Regions from separate parts of the Homo sapiens genome. Here all the other regions are linked to region 3. The links are contacts of gene promoters, found by promoter capture Hi-C in human tissues and cell types (Jung and others, 2019). All regions are on one chromosome and are shown on one strand. The core of a region is centred on a gene start or on the middle of the fragment in contact, and the rest is flanking DNA. Distances in the headings are between cores, read along the strand shown. Region 1 has its middle 27 kb from the start of SNORD83B. Region 2 overlaps CBX7 (chromobox 7). Region 3 holds the start of NPTXR (neuronal pentraxin receptor).

Region 1 (3,613 bases), core at 296-2,795, 440 kb after region 3:
GGAGTGTCAAATAATTGGGGGAAGAGCATGTTCTAAAACCACCAGAATAAGAATGGAGGGGACTCCAAGGCAGGCGACCAGTATCTAATGCAGAGCCTCCTGCCCTGTTCCAGACCTCAGAACTCCAGCCAGGGCCACAAGTCAGCCTAGTGCAGACCATAGACCACCCCACCCACCCCTGCTCATTTCCTTTACATTTTTTTCTTTCTTTCTTTTTTTTTTTTTTTTTTTTTTTGAGACAGTCTCACACTGTTGTCCGAGCTGGAGTGCAGTGGCACTATCTCGGCTCATTGCAACCTCTGCCTTCCAGGTTCAAGTGATTCTCCTGCCTTAGCCTCCCCAGTAGCTGGGATTACAGGTGTCCACCACCAAACCCGGCTAATTTTTTTTTTTTTTTTTTTTTTTGTATTTTTAGTAGAGATGGGATTTCACTATGTTGGCCAGGCTGGTCTTGAACTCCTGACCTTGTGATCTGCCCACCTCGGCCTCCCAAAATGCTGTAATTACAGGCGTGAGCTGCCGTACCTGGCTTTTTTCTTTTCTTTTCCTTTTCTTTCCTTTTTTCTTTCTTTCTTTCTTTTTTTCTCTCTCTCTCTTTCTTTCTTCTTCTTTCTTTCTTCTTTCTTTTTTTTTGAGATGGTCTCACTCTGTCACCCAAGCTGGAGGGCAGAGGCACAATCTTGGCTCATGGCAGCCTCAACCACCCCAGCTCAAGCAATCCTCCTACCTCAGCCTCCCCAGTAGCTGGAACCATAGACATGCACCACCACACCCAGCTAATTTCTTTTTTCACGTATTTTTTGTAGAGACGGAGTTTAACCATGTTCTCCAGGCTGGTCTTGAACTCCTGGTCTCAAGGGATCCACCTGCCTCGGCCTCCCAAAGTGCTGGGATTACAGGCTCTGTTCACATTTTTGTGTGTGTGTGCCAAGCACAGAGGGGCCACTGTGTGCAGCTACAGAGGCCCAGCTGGCCTGGCACCTCGGCTGGAAAGGGGCAGCCTCTGGGTAGAAGAGCTGGGTGCCCAGGTGGGGAAGGCATTTCACTCACCCCCTGCCAGAGCTCCCTTGGAGCCCCAGAGTTCCAGGCTCCTGGGTCCTATCTCCTCTGCTTTCTCCAAGCCCATTCCAGGGAAACAGAAACCCAGACAGGGCTTGGAAGATGTCACTCCTGGGTCCTGAAGTGAGACCCCAGAATAGATGTTCTCCTGAGGTCCCCTCTCCTGAAGTTTTATAATTCTGGGGTTGGAAGTGTCCCATGCTGTAAAATCCAAAAGTCTGTTTCCCTGCTTCTCTTTTTCTTATTTATTTATTTATTTTGAGATAGGGTCTCACTGTGTCACCAAGGCTGAATAGCAGTGGTGCAACCATGGCTCACTGCAGCTGTGAACTCCTGAGCTCAAGTGATCTTCCCACCTCGGCCTCCCAAGTAGCTGGGACTACAGGCATGCGCCACCACACCTGGCTAACTTTTGTATTTTTTATAGAGACGAGGTCTCCCTGTGTTGCCCAGACTGGCCTTAAACTCCTGGGCTCAAGCGATCCTTGCACCTTGGCCTCCCGAAGTGCAAGGATTACAGGCATGAGCCACTGCACCAAACCTTCTCTCCTTCTTAAGATTCTGAGTTTCTGTTTTGACTCTATTTGACAGCATCAGTCAAATTGCAAACGGGCTTACCCTTTGACCCAGCAATTCTCCTTCTAAGGAATCTTCCAGCCTCCAGAAGTCATCAAGCATGTGCAGAAGAGACAAGGCAAAAGTGTTCACAGTGGCTTCTTGTGTAACCAAGGAAAACTGGGAGCTGCCCCCATCTGCACCAATGGCCAGAGCAATTTATGGAACGTTTACGGAACACCGCGTCTGGTATGTGCCTATGAAACTTCTGCATTCAACAGACAAAACTTCTGCATTCAAAACACCACATTTCAAAACAAAACTTCTGCATTCAGCATGCCACAGTCATGTGTGGAGAGCAGAGAGGAACCCTGGAGGGAGGAGCTGCAGACGGAGCAGGGCCGTGGGGCAGGTGTCTACTGGTTTCCTGTAATAAATTACCATACACTTGGTGGTGGAAATAACAGGCATTTATTCTCATAGCTCTGGAGGCTAGAAGTCCAAAATCAAGGTGTCTACAGGGCCATGCTGCCTCCACAGCTCCAGGGGGCAATCTTTCAGCTTCTGGGGACTCCCGGGTTCCTTGGCCTGTGACCGCACTGTTCAATCCCTGCCTCTGACTTCACAGGGCCCTTTCCTCTCCTGAGTCTCTGTTTGCAAATCTCCCATCCCTTTCTCTTGTAAGAACACTCTAACTGGATTTAGGATCCACCCCAACCCAGGGTGACCTCATTCTGAGATCCATACTCTAATTACATCTGCAAAAATCCTTATTCCAAATAAGGTCACGTTCTGAGGTGCAGAATAGACATGAATTTTGGGGAGATCCTTTTCAACCCACAACAATGTGGAAGGCCAATGTGTCTTCTCCATCATTTGGTCCTGCTGCAAGGAGGGTGTGTTTCTGGACCTGTGTATTATTTGTGTATCATTTCATTTATGCCTAGTGTTCCATTATTGGGAATTATTTCTGTCCTCCTTCTCAAGGTCATTGCCAAGGTCTGATTGCAAAAGTTTTAAAAATTGCAACTTAAGGCATAAATGGGTTAATTTTTTTTTTTTTTTTTTTTGAGACAGGGTGTCTGTTACCCAGGCTGGAGTGCAGTGGCACAGTCATGGCTCACTGCAGCCTTGGCCTCCTGGGTTCAAATGATCCTCCCACCGCAGCCCTGCTGAGTAGCTGAAACTATAGACATTCGCCACCACACTCGGCTAATTTTCTTTAATTTATTTTTTGTAGTGATGGAGTCTCACTCTGTTGCCCAGGCTGGTCTCAAACTCCTGGGCTCAAGCGATCCTCCCTCTTCAGCCTCCCAAGTAGCTAGGATTTCAGGTATGCACCACCACGCTTGGCTAATTTTTAAAATTATTTTAGAGACAGGGTCTCACTATGTTGCCCATTCTAGTCTGGAACTCCTGGCCTCAAGCGATCCTCCCACCTCAGCCTCCCAAAGTGCTGGGATTACAGGCATGAGTCACTGTGTCTGACCTCATTTTAACTTTCAAAAAGTTCTAAAATCCCAGAAGACAAGTTGTCTTCAAAGATCCTCTGCCTCCCAGGGTCAATGACTCCAGTTTTCTGGGAGGCCCAGGGGGCCCCTCGGCAATGAGGTGGAAATCGTCAGCATGGCAGGGTGGACGCCTCTGATACCTGCCCTGCTGACCAGGCTGGAAGTTGCTGTGGCATCCTCAGGCCTCCAGATGGTGAGCCTCCCTGAGTCAATGGCGAGGTGATGGCCGACGTTCCCAGCCCAGCACTTGCTCCGGGTAGGAGCTGGGCACCTTGGAGCATGGCAGGGCTAGGGAGTGGGGGACAGTGGACTGGGAGCTCTGCCTGGTACCAGCGGCCCACTTGCCCATGACAGGCTCCTCAAGGGTCCTGGGCAGTCACAGATCCCAACCCCTCATTTTGGGGTTTTGTTTTGTTTTTGAGACAGAGGCTTGCTCTGTTGTCCAGGCTGGAATGCAGTGGCACAATCTCGTCTCACTGCAACCTCTG
Region 2 (3,504 bases), core at 827-3,326, 290 kb after region 3:
CCCGCTGCCGAGTGGGCACGTCAGGGAGAAGCAGAGCTTCTCCTTGCCCTTGGCCTTGTGGGAGCTCCGCAGGTCCATGCTGTACAGCCGCTGCGGGGGCAAGCCAGGGCAGCGCGGGTCAGCCCCACCCTCCCACCCGCCACACCTTTGCTCATGCTGTTCCTCCCACCCGGAATGCCCTTCCCATGCCATGTCTACCCACTCAACTCCTTCCCATGCCACGGCTGGCCATCACCCCACCCCACCCCAGCCCAGAGAGTGCGCCCCGGGCAACCCCAGGGTCGGCCAGCTCAGCCCTGCCTCTGGGCCCCACAGAGCACTCGCGTCCCAGCGTTTACTCCTTTGATACCCAGCAGAGAAGCATACAAGAAGGACAAACTGAAAACTGGCCAAGAGAAACAAATCTGGATGCATTAAGGAGTTAGCCTTCGTTTTAGGAAAGGCATCTTTGCTTGCCAGAGCACCTCCAAAACTGACACTGCCAGCTCACCCGGGAGATGGTGCAGGCAGAGGGCCAAGGTGTGCTCTTGGAGTTGCTTGGGGCAAAGCCAGGCCAGCAGCACACACAGCCCCGGATGCCCATGCTATCCAGCCAAAGGGACAGGGCTCCACCTGGCCTGCAGATGCACCCCGACCCCTCCAGGGGGCTCCTGGGCTCTGTGATTGCAGCCCGCTCTGCTGATTGCCCGCGACACATCTGGAGCTGGAGGGCAAGTCTGTCCACCCCTGGAGTTTGTAATGTCGGGATTTATCTTATTTACTTGGGGAGAATTTACATGAATCTACAAAAGATTCATGGTGCCAAGATGTTGGGAGACTCTGGATCACTGGGACAGTACCTTCTCCTGCCACCTGCTACCAGAGGTCAGGAGCTCCCAGGAAGATAGTGCAGCCATCAGATGGGACCTGTGAGGTCAAACACCTCCAAGCTGAGGGAAGGGATGACACACGCAGGTCCCACTCACAGTCGTGCCTGTTAACGGCATCACATGTCCCCAGGTGCCGGCTGCTGCAGTGATGGGAGGAGGGCTAAACTGGGAGGGGACTGGGAAAATACTGCAGTGCCTGGGAGGCACATCTGGTAGGCAGCTGACTCAAAACCCACTCCTCCCAGCGGGCTCACAGGCCATCAGAAGCCTAGTATGGGCCAGGCACAGTGGCTCACGCCTGTAATCCCAACACTTTAGGAGGCCGAGGCAGCTGGATCACCAGAGGTCAGGAGTTCAAGGCCAGCCTGGCCAACATGGCGAAACCCCATCTCTACTAAAAATACAAAAATTAGCCGGGTGTGGTGGCAGGTGCCTGTAATCCCAGCTACTTGGGAGGCTAAGGCAGGACAATCATTTGAACCCAGAAGGCAGAGCTTGCAGTGAGCAGAGATCGCACCACTGTATTCCAGCCTGGGCGACAGAGCGAGACTCTGTCTGGGAAAAAAAAAAAAAAAAAAAAAGAAGCCCAGTACATTCTACCATTCTGCAAGGCAGGGTCTTCTACGTCCTTGGCAACCTCATCACGAGAGAACTACAGCTACTAAAGGGACGCGGGTGCCAACAGTCAGGTCCTGGGTAAGCTACCGGCCTCCCTGGGCCTCAGTTTCTTTCTCAGCGAAACAATGAAGAGACTGTAGGAGCCAGCCTCCGAGGAGGGCCCCAACCACACCCACCTCCTGGAATTCACACCTATGCGCCGTCCATTCCCACACCCAGTGCTGTGTTGTGTGACTTCCCAGGCTAGGGCATAAAAGACACTGTGGCTTCTTCCCTGCTCTCTCTCTCAGGTCACCCACTCTGGGAAGCTGGTGGCTGCACTGTAAGGACACTCAAGCAACCCTCTGGAGAGGTCCACATGGTGAGGACCAGTCCCTGTCAACGTCCAGCCCTGACTCGATGGCACGTGAGCAGCCCCCTCGGAGGCAGATCCCGCAGCCCTGGTCGAGCCTGCAGATGACTGCAGCCCAGCCAACACCTTGACTGCAGCCCAGACTAGAACCACTGAAGAACCAGCTAGCACAATTCCAAATTCCTGACCCCCAGAAGCCATGTGAAATAATCAATGTTTATTGCTTTGAGTTGCCATGTTAGAGGGGAAGAGATAACGAACACACCTGCCCTGTAGGCTTAGTATGTGGATGGAGTATATTCATCTGTGAGGCACACTGGGCAGACAGCCTGGCACACAGACGTCCAGGAGATGTTACTTCCCTTCCTAGGCTCAATTCATGCCAAACCCAATGGAACATGCCCACTGCATGAAGGGAGGCCCACCCCCTCTGGCGAAAGCCTCCATGGGTTTTAATCAGGAGTGGCCAAGGACGCTTGACATGGACCACATACAAGTGGACCAAGAATCCTGACTTTCTGGCTTCCAATATCCTGCCTGGTGGGTCTTATTACATTAAGGAGAGCGGGTATTCTCTTCATACCCATTTTACAGGTGAAGAGGCTTACCTACAACCACACACAGGCAGAGCATTCCTTATCCGAAATGCTTGGAACCAGAAGTGTTTCAGACTTCGAATTTTTTTAGGATTTTGGAATATTTGCATTATATATACTAGCTGAGCATCCCCAATCCAAAAATCTGAAATTTAGACTGCTCCAATGAACACTTCCTTTGAACATCATTTTGGTGCTCAAAATGTTTTGGATTCTGGAGCATTTCAGATCTTGTTTTTCTTGTTGGGGTGGGGGGGCGGGGCGGCAGGGGACGGAGTTTCACTCTTATCACCCAGGCTGGAGTGCAATGGTATGATCTTGGCTCCCTGCAACCTCCACCTCCCGGGCTCAAGTGACTGTCCTGTCTCAGCCCCCTGAGTAGCTGGGATTACAGGTGCCCGCCACCATCCCCAGCTAATTTTTGTATTTTTAGTAGAGACAGGTTTTCACCATGTTGGCCAGGCTGGTTTTGAACTTCTGACCTCAGGTGATCCACCCGCCTCGGCCTCCCAAAGTGTTGGGATTACAGGCATGAGCCACCGCACATGGCAGCATTTTGGATTTTGGATCAGGGAGACTCAACCTGTGACTGCACTGCTCCAAGATCCACGTCCCTGTCACTGCAAAGCACTGAGGTCAGGAAAGGCCCCCAAGACCTACGACGTGGGTACTCCGGGATGCTGCAGAGACTTGGGTCCCCAACTGACTGAAGGCTGGAACAGGAGGCCCACTCAAAAATGACACACTTCTAGGGGTCTGACATTCCAAGGCTGTAGTTCTACAATTCTAAGATTCTGTTTCTGGCTGGGCGCGGTGGCTCACGCCTGTAATCCCAGCACTTTGGGAGGCCAAGCCGGGCGGATCATGAGGTCAGGAGATCGAGACCATCCTGGCCAACACGGTGAAACCCCGTCTCTGCTAAAAATACAAAAATTTAGCCAGGCGTGGTGGCGGGCGCCTGTAGTCCCAGCTACTGGGGAGGCTGAGGCAGGAGAATGGCGTGAACCCGGGAGGTGGAGCTTGCAGTGAGCCAAGATCGCGCGCCACTGCACTCCAGCCTGAGCGACAG
Region 3 (3,311 bases), core at 234-2,733:
GAAAAGTGAGTGGAGGAGGAGGAGCTCGGGGGGCCCTGTTCTCCATTCAGCCCCCACCCAAGAGCTGTGGGCTTCCAGGTGTGTGAGGCTGGGCGCCTGGCACCTGAGCTCCTGCGGTTTGGGTCATAGTCTGAGCCAGAGTGGGAGATTCAGGGTAGGGAGGTGGTGAGGGGCACCCAGGTTTGTCTTATAGGGCACTCTGTTCCCGGCTCTGTGTAATGAGGGGAGGACCCCAAGTCCTTTGGACAGCGCATCCATCTCCTGGCCATAAAGTGTGAGCGTGGAGCTGGGCTGATTTGGGGGTGTCCGGAAGAAGGAAATGAAAGGGACATTTAATGAGGTCCTAGTACGTGCCAAGCATTTTCACACACCTACATTTGATTCAATTTCCACTACAAGTGGACACTGTTATACCTATTTTACAGACACAGAAACTGAGGCTCAGAGAGGTGCCTGGAGACGGAAAAGGGTGGGGAGCGAATCTTTCTGGCGCGCCCTCTGTGCCTCAGTCACCGTGCCAGACGCCTGCCCGCGTTCCCTATCGAAATCCCCCCGCCTCGCCAGCGAGGAAGGCGCGATCGTCCCCGGAACACAGACGGGAGACCGGAGGCTCGGGGACCGCCGGACGACCGCGGCCGGGCGGCCCCTCACACCACCCGGGCGGCTCCCCCGACGGCGCGCGGCGCTCACCTCCAGGCGGTCGATGCGGTCCCGCAGGGCGCGCACGGCGTCCTCCAGCTCCAGAATGAGCGCAGGCGAGTCCCAGGGCCCGTCGGCCATGGTGTCGCGGCGGGGCCCGGCGCCCTGGAGGCCGCGCGGCAGGCCGCTCTCGCAGCGGCCCAGCTTGCCGGTGAGCTCACGGATGGTGTCCTGGTCGGCGCGGATGCGCGCCTCCTGCTGCAGCGCCGTCTGGCGCAGCTGCTCGGCCGTGCTCTGCAGCAGCAGCAGCTCTTCGCGCTCGCCCGGCGCAGCGCCCGCCGCGTCCCCCTGCTGGGCCCCCGACGGGCAGGCAGCAGCCAGCGGCGTGCACAGGAAGCGGCTGAACAGGGGCCCGGGCGGCAGCGGGTGCGCGCTGGCCGCGGGTGCCCCGGGCAGCGCGGGGGGCCCGGCTGAACCGCCCGCGCCGTGCAGCGCGCTCAGGCTCCGCTGCGGGCCCGGGGACGCGGCGGCGCCCGAGGCGACCGAAGCATTGTCGGCGCCGCCGGGCAGCGCCCGCGCCGGGCTGGCCGCCAGGGGCACGCTGGCGATGATGCAGATGACGGCACCGAGGAACGCCAGCATGCCCGCGGCCAGCAGCACGGCCAGGAACTTCAGCGTGAGGCGGGCGGCGGGGGCGCCCGAGGCCCCCGGCAGGCGCGGCGGCGGGGTCGGGGCGCGGAGCCCGGGCGCGCTGGGCCGAGCGGGGCAGGCGCGGGAGCCGGAGCCGGAGCCGGAGCCGGAGCCGGAGCTGGAGCTGTCGCCGCGGCCGCTGCTGCCGCCGCTCTGAGCCCGGGCGGCGGGAGGAGGAGAAGACGGCAGGCGGCGGGGAGGGGGAGCGGGCGCGGCGGCCCCGCCCCACTCGCTTCCCCGGGCCGGCCCTGGCCCCGGCCCAGCCCCGCACCCGTTCAGTGCCGGGCGCCCGGCTGGGGGCGCCGCCGGGGATGCGGCGAGGAGCGAGGGCAGCGCCTGGGACCTTATCTCGCCGCGGTCACAGCGCAGGGGCCGGCGACCCGAGGGCCGCGCGGCGGGGCTCCTGGGTGACCCCCATCCCAGCCCTCCCGTGCTCGGGCCCCCTCCCCAAGCCGGTTATGTTCACATCCACCCGGGAGGGAGCTTTCTTCCGGGTGGGGCTGTGCACTGGGCGCGCCACAAGCTCGGTCGCAATTGAGCCTTGCCGTGGACAGGCTCACAATAGAAATGAGGAAACTGAGACACCTGAGGTCAGGCCTCTGTCCAAGGTCACCGGGTGGCTGCGTTGGAGCCGCCTGCGAGCTTAGGCACGTTTCACCGGACCAGACTGTGGATGGGGCTGGAGTGGGAGCGGTTAGAGGTGGAGAAGAGGCCAGTGTTGGGGGTTGGGGGGAGGCTCGGATTTTGACCTAACTTCTGTTTATACTGTGGCCACCTGCCCGTCACCCCCACCTCCAACCTTCTGAAGGAGCAGAGTTCACTCCCCGCCACCCTCATTACAGAATCTTCCTGTGATCTCAGAGGATGATGGAAATTCTCTCCTCTGAATCCTTGGGGGCTTAGAGCCTCACAGGTCCAGAGAAACCCCCCACCCCCACTGCAGTCTGCCTTCGTTGGCAAGCGGTGCCACGTGCCTGGTGGGCATGTGGACCAGGCCCAGAAGGAACAGCAGGAATGGGAGTGGGCTGTGCTGTGGGGGTGGCAGAGGAGCGTTTTACTTTCTTCTGTCAAAAATGTCTATATATATTTTGTTGAAAATTAACTTTGCAATTAAAAACTTAAAAACAATCCTACTATCCTCCACACTTTATCCCCAGCTCCAATTTTCCATGAGGTCTTTCCTGACCAATACGGATTCCCAGGGCTGGAAGGGCCTTGGGAGGGCTGTGGTTATTCCCAGCTCTGTCTCCCTTCCAAGCCTGCATTTTTGACTTGAAGGGAAAGCGCAAACCAGGATCTCTGGACCACCACGGCTACCACTGTGGTTTCGAGTGTACTTCACATAGCGCTGGTGGTGGGGAGAGACCGGAATGTTTCCCAGGAAGCCACAACCCTGGGGGACGCTCTCCAGCCACGGGGATTTTGTCCAGTGTTCCCAGGCACACGTGCTCCACCTCCCTCTCTCCACACATGTTAGGATGATGTCCACCCTGTTCACCCATCTCTAGGAGCCAGGGATTTTCATCCATACCTGAGTTGTGAAAGAGGAGAGAAGCAAACACAAGCGCTGTATGCCAGGAACCTGAGTGCTGTGTGTGCGTGGATGTGTGCTGGTGCTCACTGAAGTCGTAACCTCAAAACCCAGGGCAGGCAGCTGGGCTTGGAGGAAGCATCTCATGGACAGAGAGATGGGCTGGGCTCTTGGAAGGCAAAGGCCAGCGGTAGGCCCTGCTAAAGTCCTGGGGATGCATGAGACATCGGGACTCCTGGTACATCTACACGTGTGCCGTGAAGACAGAAACACGGAGATAGCATCCCCAGGAGAAACTGTCATAGGAAGTCCAGGGAAGGACAGGAGATGCCAAGAGAGAGGGCTGCTGCCAAGAGCAGCAGAGCCACTGTGACTTGGGCACCAAATGGTGCCACCTTTACCTGAGCTGCCCCCTGAGACTTTGGGGACAGTTTGGATAAATGGGTCCAGA

The links. The method cuts DNA at HindIII sites, captures the fragments that hold promoters and counts their contacts. A contact is called where the count stands out against the background at its distance.
Region 1: a fragment that was not itself captured here is called in contact with the fragment with the promoter of NPTXR in region 3 in 1 of the 25 tissues and cell types used here (dorsolateral prefrontal cortex).
Region 2: a fragment that was not itself captured here is called in contact with the fragment with the promoter of NPTXR in region 3 in 1 of the 25 tissues and cell types used here (pancreas).

What each region holds. Positions count from the first base shown.
Region 1 is chr22:39,285,358-39,288,970 of GRCh38, forward strand. No RefSeq gene overlaps it. Among named protein-coding and RNA genes, the nearest start is that of SNORD83B, 27 kb to the right of the region's middle. The HindIII fragment of the contact is 9,215 bases long and covers 1-3,613 here.
Region 2 is chr22:39,134,663-39,138,166 of GRCh38, forward strand. It overlaps CBX7 (chromobox 7), which reads right to left. Exons shown (of 6, transcript NM_175709.5): 5 at 1-90. Among named protein-coding and RNA genes, the nearest start is that of CBX7, 16 kb to the right of the region's middle. RefSeq lists enhancers at 1-333, 440-1,417. The HindIII fragment of the contact is 3,206 bases long and covers 474-3,504 here.
Region 3 is chr22:38,842,545-38,845,855 of GRCh38, forward strand. NPTXR (neuronal pentraxin receptor) reads right to left here and starts at 1,484. Exons shown (of 5, transcript NM_014293.4): 1 at 691-1,484. The coding sequence starts at 1,314. RefSeq lists a silencer at 1,003-1,072. The HindIII fragment of the contact is 15,093 bases long and covers 1-3,311 here.